2 separate regions of the Homo sapiens genome follow, and region 2 is linked to region 1. The links are contacts of gene promoters, found by promoter capture Hi-C in human tissues and cell types (Jung and others, 2019). All regions are on one chromosome and are shown on one strand. The core of a region is centred on a gene start or on the middle of the fragment in contact, and the rest is flanking DNA. Distances in the headings are between cores, read along the strand shown.

Evidence for each region. Contacts are between HindIII fragments. The study calls those that stand out against the background at their distance.
Region 2: a contact is called between a fragment that was not itself captured here and the fragment with the promoter of ARRB1 in region 1, in 1 of the 25 tissues and cell types used here (mesenchymal stem cells).

The regions. Positions count from the first base shown.
Region 1 is chr11:75,348,352-75,354,185 of GRCh38, reverse strand. It overlaps ARRB1 (arrestin beta 1), which reads left to right and starts at 2,525. Exons shown (of 16, transcript NM_004041.5): 1 at 2,525-2,598. The coding sequence starts at 2,579. RefSeq lists enhancers at 1,317-2,272, 3,335-3,384 and a silencer at 2,505-2,784. The HindIII fragment of the contact is 14,768 bases long and covers 1-5,834 here.
Region 2 is chr11:75,575,509-75,581,055 of GRCh38, reverse strand. No RefSeq gene overlaps it. Among named protein-coding and RNA genes, the nearest start is that of MAP6-AS1, 4.9 kb to the left of the region's middle. RefSeq lists a silencer at 2,758-2,926 and an enhancer at 4,049-4,549. The HindIII fragment of the contact is 6,092 bases long and covers 1-4,342 here.

The sequences.
Region 1 (5,834 bases), core at 1,276-3,775:
ACTACAGGCGCCCGCCACCATGCCTGGCTAATTTTTTTTTTTTTTTTTTTTTTGTATTTTTAGGAGAGACAGGGTTTCACCATGTTAGCCAGGCTGGTCTTGAACGCCTGACCTCAAGTGATCTACCCGCCTTGGCCTCCCAAAGTGTTAGGATTACAGGCATGAGCCACTATGCCCGGCCATTTTATTAATACATAAATATGTTTTTCAAAAATTAGCTGGGCGTGGTGGTGGGCGCCTGTAGTCCCAGCTACTCGGGAGGCTGAGGCAGGAGAACGGCCCGAACCCAGGAGGCAGAGCTTGCAGTGAGCCGAGATTGCGCCACTGCACTCCAGCCTGGGTGACAGAGCAAGACTCCGTCTCAAAAAAAAAAAAAAAAAAAAAAATATATATATATATATATATATATATATGTTTTTCATAGAGCCTGGCAGGTAAAGCAAAATTGTCCTCTTGACTCTTCTTCTGCCATCGTTGCTCCCTCACTGGAATTTAAAGTAAATTAAATCGACCGGGAGCAGTGGCTCACGCCTGTAATCCCAGCACTTTGGGAGGCCAAGGTGGGTGGATCACCTAAGGTCAGGAGTTCGAGACCAGCCTGGCCAACATGGTGAATCCCTATCTCTACAAAAATACAAAAATTAGCTGGGCATGATGGCAGTGGCTGTAATTCCAGCTACTGGGGAGGCTGAGGTGGCAGAATTTCTTGAACCCAGGAGGCAGAGGTTGCAGTGAGCCAAGATCATTCCATTGTACTCCAGCCTGGGTGGCAGAGCAAGACTTCGTCTCAAAAATAAATAAAATAAATAAATATATTTAGATGTTTTGGGCATCAGCATGGAGAGATCCATTGGAGATCTTATGGTTTGGTCAAACCTGTTTTACAGGTGGGGAAACTGATGTGGAGAGTGGCAGGACCTGGCTTCACCATCCTGGTTAGGGATCTCCTGTCATCAAAGAAGATTCTAGTCTGCTCCTTTCCAGATCTCTGAGCCCTGCAGAAACAACAGGTGGCTTCCTCTTCTTCCTCTGTAGAGGGTGAAACCCAGAGGCCAAGACTGGGAGGAGGGTTCTGGGCTTTCATCCATACTCTCTAGCTCCTAACATTGCCCAGAGGTGGGCCACCCTGCCTACCCATCAGCCTCCCCCTGCCCCTCTGCCAAATCTGGACATAATTATAGTAATTATACTGCATATAAACAGTATAGGTAACTGCTTCTGAGCATAATTACAGGAGATGTTTACATACTCACAACAGCATCAGAGTAAATGATAGCTTACTTTCCCCTTAATACTTAGATATCAGGGACCTATCCGGGATAATTAGCCAAATCTCAGTAGTGAGGGTGTGGTAAAGACCTTACCGTTTCCCACTACCTGCAAAGCAGGAAGGCACCTCAGACAAAGCAGGGTCCCAGCCAAGATTTCACAGGACATCAAGAAGCCTGCAGAGAAGTGGGCTAACATCTACTGGGCACCTACTGTATGCAGGCGCTCAGGGGAGGCCAGCAAACACAAGCGAGTTCTTTCAACCTATTAACAATTCTGCAGGCTGATATTAGTGTATCCTCACTTTACAGGTCCGGACATGGGTTCTCAGAAGCTTAGTGCACAGGGTCACCCACAGCGAGCCATGGAGCTGGGCATGGGCGCTTTCCACGGTGCTACCCGGTCACAGCAGCGGGCCAGCTCTGCCCTCTTCCTTTATCGCCTCTTCTCACTTCTCACAGCTTCCTCTTCCTGGGCGGCCTCCTGCAGCCCCTGCTGGCCGCGGGTCTCCGCTCAGTTCCCCAGTGTCAAGGCCGTCTACTGCCCCCTCCGCCCCTTCTTCCTGTCCCTGTTGTGTGGCTGGGTGTTATCTCTCCAGTAGAAGGGGGTGGGGTGGGTGGAATGGGGAAGGGTGGAGCACAGGGCGAAGGCCTTGCCAGGCATCCCGGGGTCTCCAGCTAAGCGAGGGGCCGCAGGGAGCGCGGCCTCGGGGTCGCCAGACCCTCGGCTTCCAACCACCCGCACACACAAAGGCTGCCCCGGCATGCGCGGGAGAGCGCGCTCGCACCCACGGCCGTGCGCACACACGCACAACTGCACAAAGACGTGCACACTCCTCCATCCACACCAATACACTCCCTAATAGGGCCCGCACACAGCCGTGCGCCCTCACATACACCACACCACCACCACCACCACCACACACACACACACACACTCTCACACGGACTCGCACGCGGGTGGACCCCCTCCCCCACCACAAACGCCGACCTTGGGGCCCTGACGCGTCCCGCCGCGCTGCCCTGCCTCGCTGGGCGGCGCGCGCACACGCAGACGCGCACACACACACACATACACACACGCACACACCCCGCGCGGTTCCACGCCCCTGGCCGCGGCCCGGGCGCTGCGCTGCTCGACGCGGCGGGCGGCGGGCGGGGACCGGGGGCGGGGGCGGCGGCGGCGGCCGGGAGAGCGGAGGAGGCGGAGCAGGGAGCCGGGAGCGGGCTGGCCCGCGCTCCTCCTGCTGGCTGGGGATTTTCCAGCCTGGGCGCTGACGCCGCGGACCTCCCTGCGACCGTCGCGGACCATGGGCGACAAAGGGACCCGGTGAGTGCAGGGCGGCCGCCCGGCGGGGGGCGCGTGGGGGCGACCTCGGCGAGGACACGGGCGGGGGCTCCGATTGCGTCCTGGTTCTGCGTTCGCGGCCACCGCGGGATCTAGTACCAGCTCTCCTCCACCCGAGGTCTCCTGTGTGGTCTCCCCGGCAGGGCCGTGGGCGGGGGGACCCAAAGGGCGAGGGCCGGGCCGCCCCATGTGGGCCGCAGCTCCTGGCCCGGACACACAGCTCGCTGACACCCAGCATTGGCCGGCAGCCGCAGAGACGCACGGGGGCAGGTTGACACACAATACACGCACGGGCACACTAACCCGTGGCACAGGCATGCTGGCGCACACACTGGCAACCGCTAGCACACGCTCATCACACGCAGTGGCACGCCGTCATACACGCCTCGGTCAACACATTCTTGCTGACAGCCTTGTTGGCATGCACAGCTCACAATCCAACACACACCAATTCTAGCACACCCTCGTGCTGGCACACACGTGTGGGCATACACTGATACGCACACTGTCACCTGCACTCGCTGTAGCAAACACTCTTGCTGGCACACACATCACCCTCACTGGCACACACACTTGTGCTGGCATGTCTCACCAACACAGCGGAGCGCAAGGCCACACCAACACTGACCCCCACAGACACAATCAGACTGATGCCCTCAAAGACTGGCACCCCACAGGCACGAGCTGCTAGCCCAAGGCCCGCTGACACACACGCTTCAGGCCCCACATGGCCAGAAGTGGAAACACACACATCACACAGGGTAGAGCGCCCCCCGCCACCCCCAGCCTGGGGAAAACAGATCGCATTTCATCCAAATAGATCCCATCCATCTACTCTGTTCCCTTTCCCTCTGACCTCCTGAGGAGTGGCTGGCCAGGGGCTGTTTTGAACCTAGGGCTGGGAGAACCCCTCCCGTTCTCCTAGAACCTGTCCTGAAATACTCAGAAACAGTCTCTGCCTCTGAAAGGGGAAACTGGGACAAAAGGAGGAGGGGGCTGGAGCAGGACAGCCCCTGGGGGCAGCCCTTCAGACAGGACCAGCGCTGGTCAGGGGCTCAGCGTTGCCACCCTATTTTCCCCGTTGCCCTCCCCACCCCCTAAGTGGGCACAGCAGCCTCTCCCTGGGCTCCCCCTCTTTCTCATTGTTTTCTGTCTTTCTCTTCTATTCTTGTGTCCGACTTCTGCCTCCTTCCTTTCCTCCCCTCCCCTCTCCTCGTTTCCATTTATTATTAAGCTCTTGCTGTATACTAGGCGTAGTGTGGGGGATCAAAGATGCGCAAGGCCCACTCCTCCCCTGAAGGAGCTAACAGACTAGAGAGACACCACCCCGGTGGGCACCACCTTTCAGGGCCACTGACAAAGCTATTTCTCACCCACTGCCATCTAAGACTCTCTCTCCACAGTGTGAGAAAGGGCTTGCAGAGATTATTTCCATTTTCTAGAGGAGGAAACAGGCTCAGAGGCAACTCAGGCTCTTAATGTTTAGAAACTACTTTCCAGCCATCCTCCTGACAGCTCTTCCAGGAGGTTAATTTTCCTCTTCCTGTTTTCTAGCAGAGGAACCAGAGGGCTAGAGGCCATGTGATTTGCCTAAGGTCAAAAGGGGCCAGAGGCAGGGCGGAGGCTGGAGTCCACTTGGTCATGTCTCTGTGGATGGCCCTAGGGCACTGCCAGGCCCCTCATGGGCCAGGGAGGGGAGCCCTGCTCTGTGCTGGAGGCCCAGGCTTTGGGGGGGACGGCAGAAGATCATGCTGTGTCTGCATGAACCTTGATGGCTAGTCCCCATTGCAGCTGGCTGGCCAGCACTGTGACCTAGGCCTCTGTCCTCAGTAGGAAGGTATGTGACTCCTTCCCCAGCCACATCCATCTGCCCTGAAATTAAGACCCTCTTGACCCATGAGGTCAGGCTTTTCTTCCTGCAGGGCATAGCAGGGAGTCGGAGCCATTCTCCACTCCATTGTCCTTCCTAGGCTGCCTTGTGATCGGAGTGACTCAGCCTCTCTTGGGTCTCTCTGTACCTCTCTGTGACTTGGGGGATAAGTGTCATTGTTGTCCTGCTGACATGATTGTCAGGAAGATGTGGACACCATGGGCTTCCAGGCACCTGTTGGAGACCCTGTCTCTGAGGCCAAGGTATTTTCCATGGCTCCCCCTGCCCTGCCTCAAACTCACTGGTGGACCTTTGGGACATTGGGCAATTGCCTTTACTTTTCCGGACGTTAGTTTCCCATCTGTAAACTGGAGCTATCAATACTTACATTTTAGGGCTTCCCTTGTACTTACTGACTTCACTGGGCAGGGGAAGAGGCACTGCCTGAAGCCTGGAGCCAAGGCCCGGCTAAATCCACCTGATGGTGGCCCAGACCTCCCCTTCAGACTCTCCTGCAGCCCCATGAGGCCTTTCTGTCCCTTTCCGGACAGTTGGCTAAGTAATTTGGAAAAGAAGGGCAAAATCAGTAATGGGCTGTACCTTGTCTTTTTCCGTAAGGCATGAGTACCTATGACTTAGAAGAGGAATCTGCAGATATCAAAAACTGAACATCAGGAATCATCGCAACCATCCCTCCATCTGGAATTGCACCCCCATGTGAAAGTGACAATGAAAATTTATCACAAACTGTCATTGCCCTCTAGGAACTCCCAGGGTCAAGGGGGAAAGAGGTGTTAAATACCTGGACAGGGCTGTGCGCGGTGGTTCACGCCTGTAATCCTAGAACTTTGGAAGGCTGAGATGGGCAGATTGCTTGAGCTCAGGAGTTCGAGACCAGTCTGGGCAACATACCATCTCTACAAAAAACACAAAAATTAGCTGAGTGTGGTGGCACATGCCTATAGTCCTAACTACTCTGGAGGCTGAAGTGGGAGGATCACTTGAGCCCTGGAGGTTAAGGCTGCAGTGAGCCATGATCATGCCACTGCACTCCAGCCTGGATGAGAGAGTGAGACCCTGTCTGAAAAAATAAAAAAAAAAAATACCTGGACAGGACTAATCACAGGGCAGGAGTATGATGGTTGCTGCAAGGTGCTCTGGGAACAATCATATATTCATTCAACAAATGTTGATGAGTGCCTTCTGAGTGCCCAGGGCCTGGGGATTCAGCAAGGAAGGAGTCTACTCTGTCCTCCAGGGATTTAGAGCAGAGCAGGTGGTCATAACGCAGGATGACATGTGTTGTGGGAGGCTTAAGGAGAAGTCCCCAACCCAGGCCCAGGCAGGG
Region 2 (5,547 bases), core at 47-2,546, 230 kb before region 1:
TCTGTTGCCAGGCTGGAGTGCAGTGGTGTGATCTCGGCTCACTGCAACCTCCGCCCCCCAGGTTCAAGTGATTTTCCTGCCTCAGCCTCCCGAGTAGCTGGGACTACAGGCGCATGCCACCATGCCCAGCTAATTTTTTGTATTTTTAGTAGAGATGGGGTTTCACCATGTTGGCCAGGATGGTCTCGATCTCTTGACCTCGCGATCTGCCCGCCTCGGCTTCCCAAAGTGCTGGGATTACAGGCATGAGCCACTGCATCCGGCTGAAATTAGTTTTTTTTAAAGTAGCAATAAAGAGATCACTGACTTTGGCAATTGTAGACTCTCTAGAGTAGAAGAAACAGAAGCCCGATTTCGGATAAGGGGGATAAGAAAGGAGAGAAGTCAAGTGTGTTTTCATACCTGATGCATAATTTACTGACATCTCATTTAGCAACCACTGAGCACATATAACCCAAGTATCCCTGAGAAAAGAACACACTGTGTGTTACAGTCATTAATTACTTTCACAATCCCTTGGTGCCTCCCACACTGAGACCACTGTCAGCTAAGCCCAGCCAGCAGTGAGCCAAGAGTCCTTCCCCAAAAGGAGGAAAACTGCTTGCTAAGGAGCACCAGGCTTCACTCCTAAATTGTAGATACTCCATTTTGATTCTTCTATCAGAGTTTGCCATGGGTTCAAATACCATCCCATCTGCCGCAGACACTTGAGCCATCTTGGGATCGGCTGGGCTATCAGGGCCATGTGGCAGAGCTGCTTGCCTTTCATTCTGGACCACCTGGAAACTTTCCTTTTCTCTGGACCCCACTCCAACCCTGCAGCCTTATAGGTTACTCAATAACCTTATAAGGATCAGAGAAACACACCAATATATTTTGCTTCCAGAATACATAGAAGCCCAAGAAGTGTTGTGCTTATTAGCAGTAAGAGGCAGAAAGCCCAGCAAGTTGTCTTTCATTTTGCAGGGATCCAGATCACTGAACACCCAGGAACTTCACGTGGTTGGCAGGCCCCTATGTTCTCATGAAACTTACTTCCATTCTTAGGCACACTTATGTCTTATTGATGCATCTGAAGTACCCACTGCTTCTCCTTCTCCCAATCCTAGCAACATAGTATAATCAATGTAGTGGACAAATATAATGGCCTGTGATATGGGAGGATGATCAAAATCTACATAGAAAATCAGAGACTTGAGGAGTTTCAAGACAAGATGAGAAAGGTGTACTGCTATCCCTGCCAACAGAAAGAAAACTGCTAAGGGGACTGTCTGTAGAGGACAAGAAAACATAACTCATCAGATAGTTTTACATTGTGACAAAAAAACAATTATAATTCCCATAAAAAGACCACACCTGGAATAATAGCATCTGCAACTGAACTCACCACCTGAGTAAGCTTACAGTAATGACCTGTCATTCTCCAAGACCCGTGCCTTCTGCACAGACCAAATAGATGAGTTAAATGAAATGTGACAGAAACCACCTTTGCATCTTTCAAGTCTTTGATGGTGGCACAAGTTCCTGTTACTCCCCAGAATTTATTATTGGTGTATTATTTTGGTAAGAAGGAGGAGATTGAGGGGTTTCCACTTGATCATTTTGCCATAATTACGCTTATTCCACAGGTCTGGAGGCTCATGTATGAATTCTACCTGTAATTCCAATTATATATCATGAAAGTAAAAAAAAAATAATAATAATTGCAGAATGGGTTCAGGGTCCCACTGCACTTGGGTCAAAACTCCAATTATTACCTGACCAACCTGAGCCTCTACACAGCAGCTTTCTGGGTCCTCAGGAATTAACATTAAATAGACTTAACATCCACTAATCCCTGAAAAATTTGAGTATTTTCTTTCCACAGAGCACAGTTTTCTGGCAAATGGCCCAGGACCGTTTGCAGAAGGCTGAAGGAATGATTTACAGTATGTATCTCTGGTGCTATTCAAGGGGCTTTTCTGAAGGGTACTGGCCTCTCTTTCATTCTAGGGACTTTGGGTGAGAGGTTGAGATCTTGTTCTTAGTGGCTCAAGTCAAGCTTCCACTTGCCAGCTCTAGAGGGTTTGTGTTTGTTTGTTGGTTGTTTTGATTTCCTGTTTCTGTTATAGAGATTAAGGAGGGCCAGGTGCGGTGGCTCACACCTGTAATCCCAGCACTTTGGGAGGCCAAGGTGGGTGGATCACCTGAGGTCAGGAGTTCAAGACCAGCCTGGCCAACATGGTGAAATCCTGTCTCTACTAATAATACAAAAATTTGCTGGGTGTAGTGGTGCATGCCTGTAATCCCAGCTACTAGGGAGGCTGAGGCAGCAGAATCACTTGAACCCAGGAGGTGGAGGTTGCAGCGATCCGAGATCGCATCACTGCACTCCCATCTAAAAAAAAAAAGAGAAAGAGAGATTAAGGAGGACCTTAAGAGCTGCCCATCTGTTTGGTCTCCTTGGTCTTATTTGGTCCTTGATTGATCAGCCTTTGCTGAAGACATCTATGGTCAGAACATGCTTATTGCCACCTGAGGTCTGATGTCCTGGGTGGTCGAGTGCTGCTCGCCCTCTGCTCCCCTGGGGTCCTATCATTTCCACTGAAATCATGGAGTCCATTTTCATGGCAGCATCTCCCACCAGTATGCCGAGCCCACAGAGAGCAAGTGCTGCAACATGCTTCAGAGATGCTTCCCTCACTCATGTGTTTCTGGGTGCCTTGGTGAAGGGGGTCTTTCTGTACAAGAGGAAGTTAGGCATGTGGAGCTTAGCCAAGGAGAGGGAGTGGGCCACACAGGGAACAGTCACCTCAACATTCCTCCCTCCCTTGGTCTTTGGATTGCATCTTCTATATTAAAACGAGGAACTTCTGGCATCTCAATTTCAATGAGCACAGGCCTTGATTGAATCCAGGAGTCAGTCAACCAGTTAAGCAAACAAAACCACTCCTAGCTGCTCACACTGGCACATTGAATCTAGAATCTCAGCTAAATGTACCTATATTAATAAATTCAGCCCGGTGAAAGTCATATTCCTCCGTCCCTGGATTAGCACCCACAGAAAACATTCTGATATACGCTATCCAGATTTTTGCTGATATAAGTTAGCAAAATCTTGCAATTCTTTTGATGTGTGTGCTGCCTCCTCCCAGACTTGACTCAGGAATTAGGCAGGCAAGGATCTATCCATGATGGGGCTGGAGACAACGTGAGTGGGGCATGAAGAGAACTGGCCTCTCCTCAGGTGACAGATGCCCACCATATTATGCTCCAGAAGAGGAGTCTAGTTTTCACGCTTTGAATCTGGGTTGGCCTGATGACTAGCTTTAACCAGGAGAATGTATTATAAGTGACATAATGCAAGTTGCAGAGCCCAGGCCTCAGATGCTTAGCTCCTGCCTCCATTCTCCCGGAATCCTGAGGTCACCGTGCCATGAAGAAACTGGGAAGGAGGATGCTGTAGACAGAGAGGCCCAGCATCAGCCATTCCAACTATCCCAGCTGAGCCCAGCATCCAGTGATTGCAGTCATCTGAGCAAACCCAATTAAGTCACTACATGTGGAGTGGCCTGTTACTCAGCAATAAATAACTAAAACGCTGCAGGATAACTTCCAGGCAAGGTCATTGCAAGATCTTCGGGCAAGGCAGCAGGAGCCTCCGCAGGTAGAGGAGCAAGGACTGCTTCTGCCACTAGGAGGCGCGGTGGAGTAGATGTTGTTGGGGCGGGGGCGGGGGCGGGGGCGGGGGGGGGCCTCTAAATTGTCCATATCTTCCCATATGACACTGTCTCATTCTCATCGAGGTCAGTGCCCTAAGTTTCACCTGAGACAGAGCAGTCCTATGAATTCAACTGATAAATTGACTACGTAATTTGGCAACGGCAGCCTCAAATTCATGTCTTAAGAAATCAGAAGGCTGGGTGCGGTGGCTCACACCTGTAATCCCAGCACTTTGAGAGGCCCAGGCGGGTGAATCACGAGGTCAAGAGATTGAGACCATCCTGGCCAATATAGTGAAACGCCCTCTCTACTAAAAATACAAAAATTAGCTGGGTGTGGTGGTGCGTGCCTGTAGTCCCAGCTACTTGGGAAGCTGAGGCAGGAGAATCTCTTGAACCTGGGAGGCGGAGGTCGTAGTGAGCCGAGATTATGCCACTACACTCTAGCCTGGCAACAGAGTGAGTCTCAAAAAAAAAAAAAGGAAGTCAGAAAATGTGGCTCAGTGCACTCTCCTCTGCCTGGAGTTTCCCCTGCTGAGCTTGGGACCTCTGCTTACACCAAGAATGGGTAAATGGAGAAATGACATGGAAAAAAAGAAAGGAAAAGAGCTGTCCACTTCTCAGCGTGGGTCTTTTCAATACAAAGCCACTTCCTCATTCTTGCTGGAGCAGCCAGGCGGGTCAGTGTGAACTGGGTGCGCCCCGAGGGATGGGGCACTGGAGACGACCACGTGGTGGGGCTGAGCAGACTGAGAAAAGTCACACTTGAGAAAACGGAAGACGGCAGCAAGATGCATGAAGGATGGTGTGTCTCCAGGGCACCTGAAGGGATGCTGCTGTGCATGCTGTCATGCTTCTGTCTAGGGGCCTGGAAGGTTCCCTGGGGGTTATAGTATCCTTTGAAATAGGCCTCTAAGGATGAGGGGGCTCAACAGGCAGAGATGGGAGGGGCCTGGGACCAGGCAGAGGAGACAGCATGGGCAAATGGGAAGGGGAGATGGTGAGAACTGAGAGGGGCTGTAGAGTTAGCGGGAGTGGCGGGACAGAGGATTGGGAAATTCAGAGGGATTGAGTGGCGAGGGCCATCTGTCCTGCCTCTAATAATGCTCACTGACCCTCTGAGTGCCTTATCCAGGGGGTTCCCATCATGTAGCAGTTCAATCCTCCATCTCCCACTTCAGCCCTCCTCACCACCCCCCTCCCTGTGTTCCACGATCACCCTGCCCATCGCAACTGCTGCACCTCTGTTCCAGCTGTTCTTCACATCTGGAATGCTTCTTTCCTTCTTGTCGTCCAGCTCCAGCCCCTTCTTCCAGGAGTCTCCCCTGACACTTCAGCCCAGCCTGAACCCAAGGCACTGTGGCATAATGGAAGGGGTCAGGCTTTTTACAGTTGCAGAGAGGTAGGCTCAAATCCCAGCTCTGCTGTATGATTTTGAATCACTACCTTCTCTTATTAGTAACTACTAATAATGTTTATTGGCTATGTATTTGCCAAGTACCATGGATTACCTCATTTAACTTTCACCACAACCTTATGAGGTAAGTACTGTTATCATTTCCACCTTACTACTGAGGAAACTGAAGCTCAGAGAAGGTAAGTAACTGACCCATGGTCACACTGCTAGGAAGTGGCAGAGCTGGGACGCCCGTCAGGTCTGTCAGGCTCCAACGCCTCTGCTGCTAAACACCACAGCTCCCACTAGACTGCTTCCTTAGAAGGTGCATTTATTAGGCGCCTCCTGTGTGCCGGGCATTGTGTTAAGTGCGGGGATGCAGCAGGACACAGGCAGACAAGGGCATGCTGTCGCAGAGGTCACAGCTGGAGTGTCAGGACAACAAGCCCC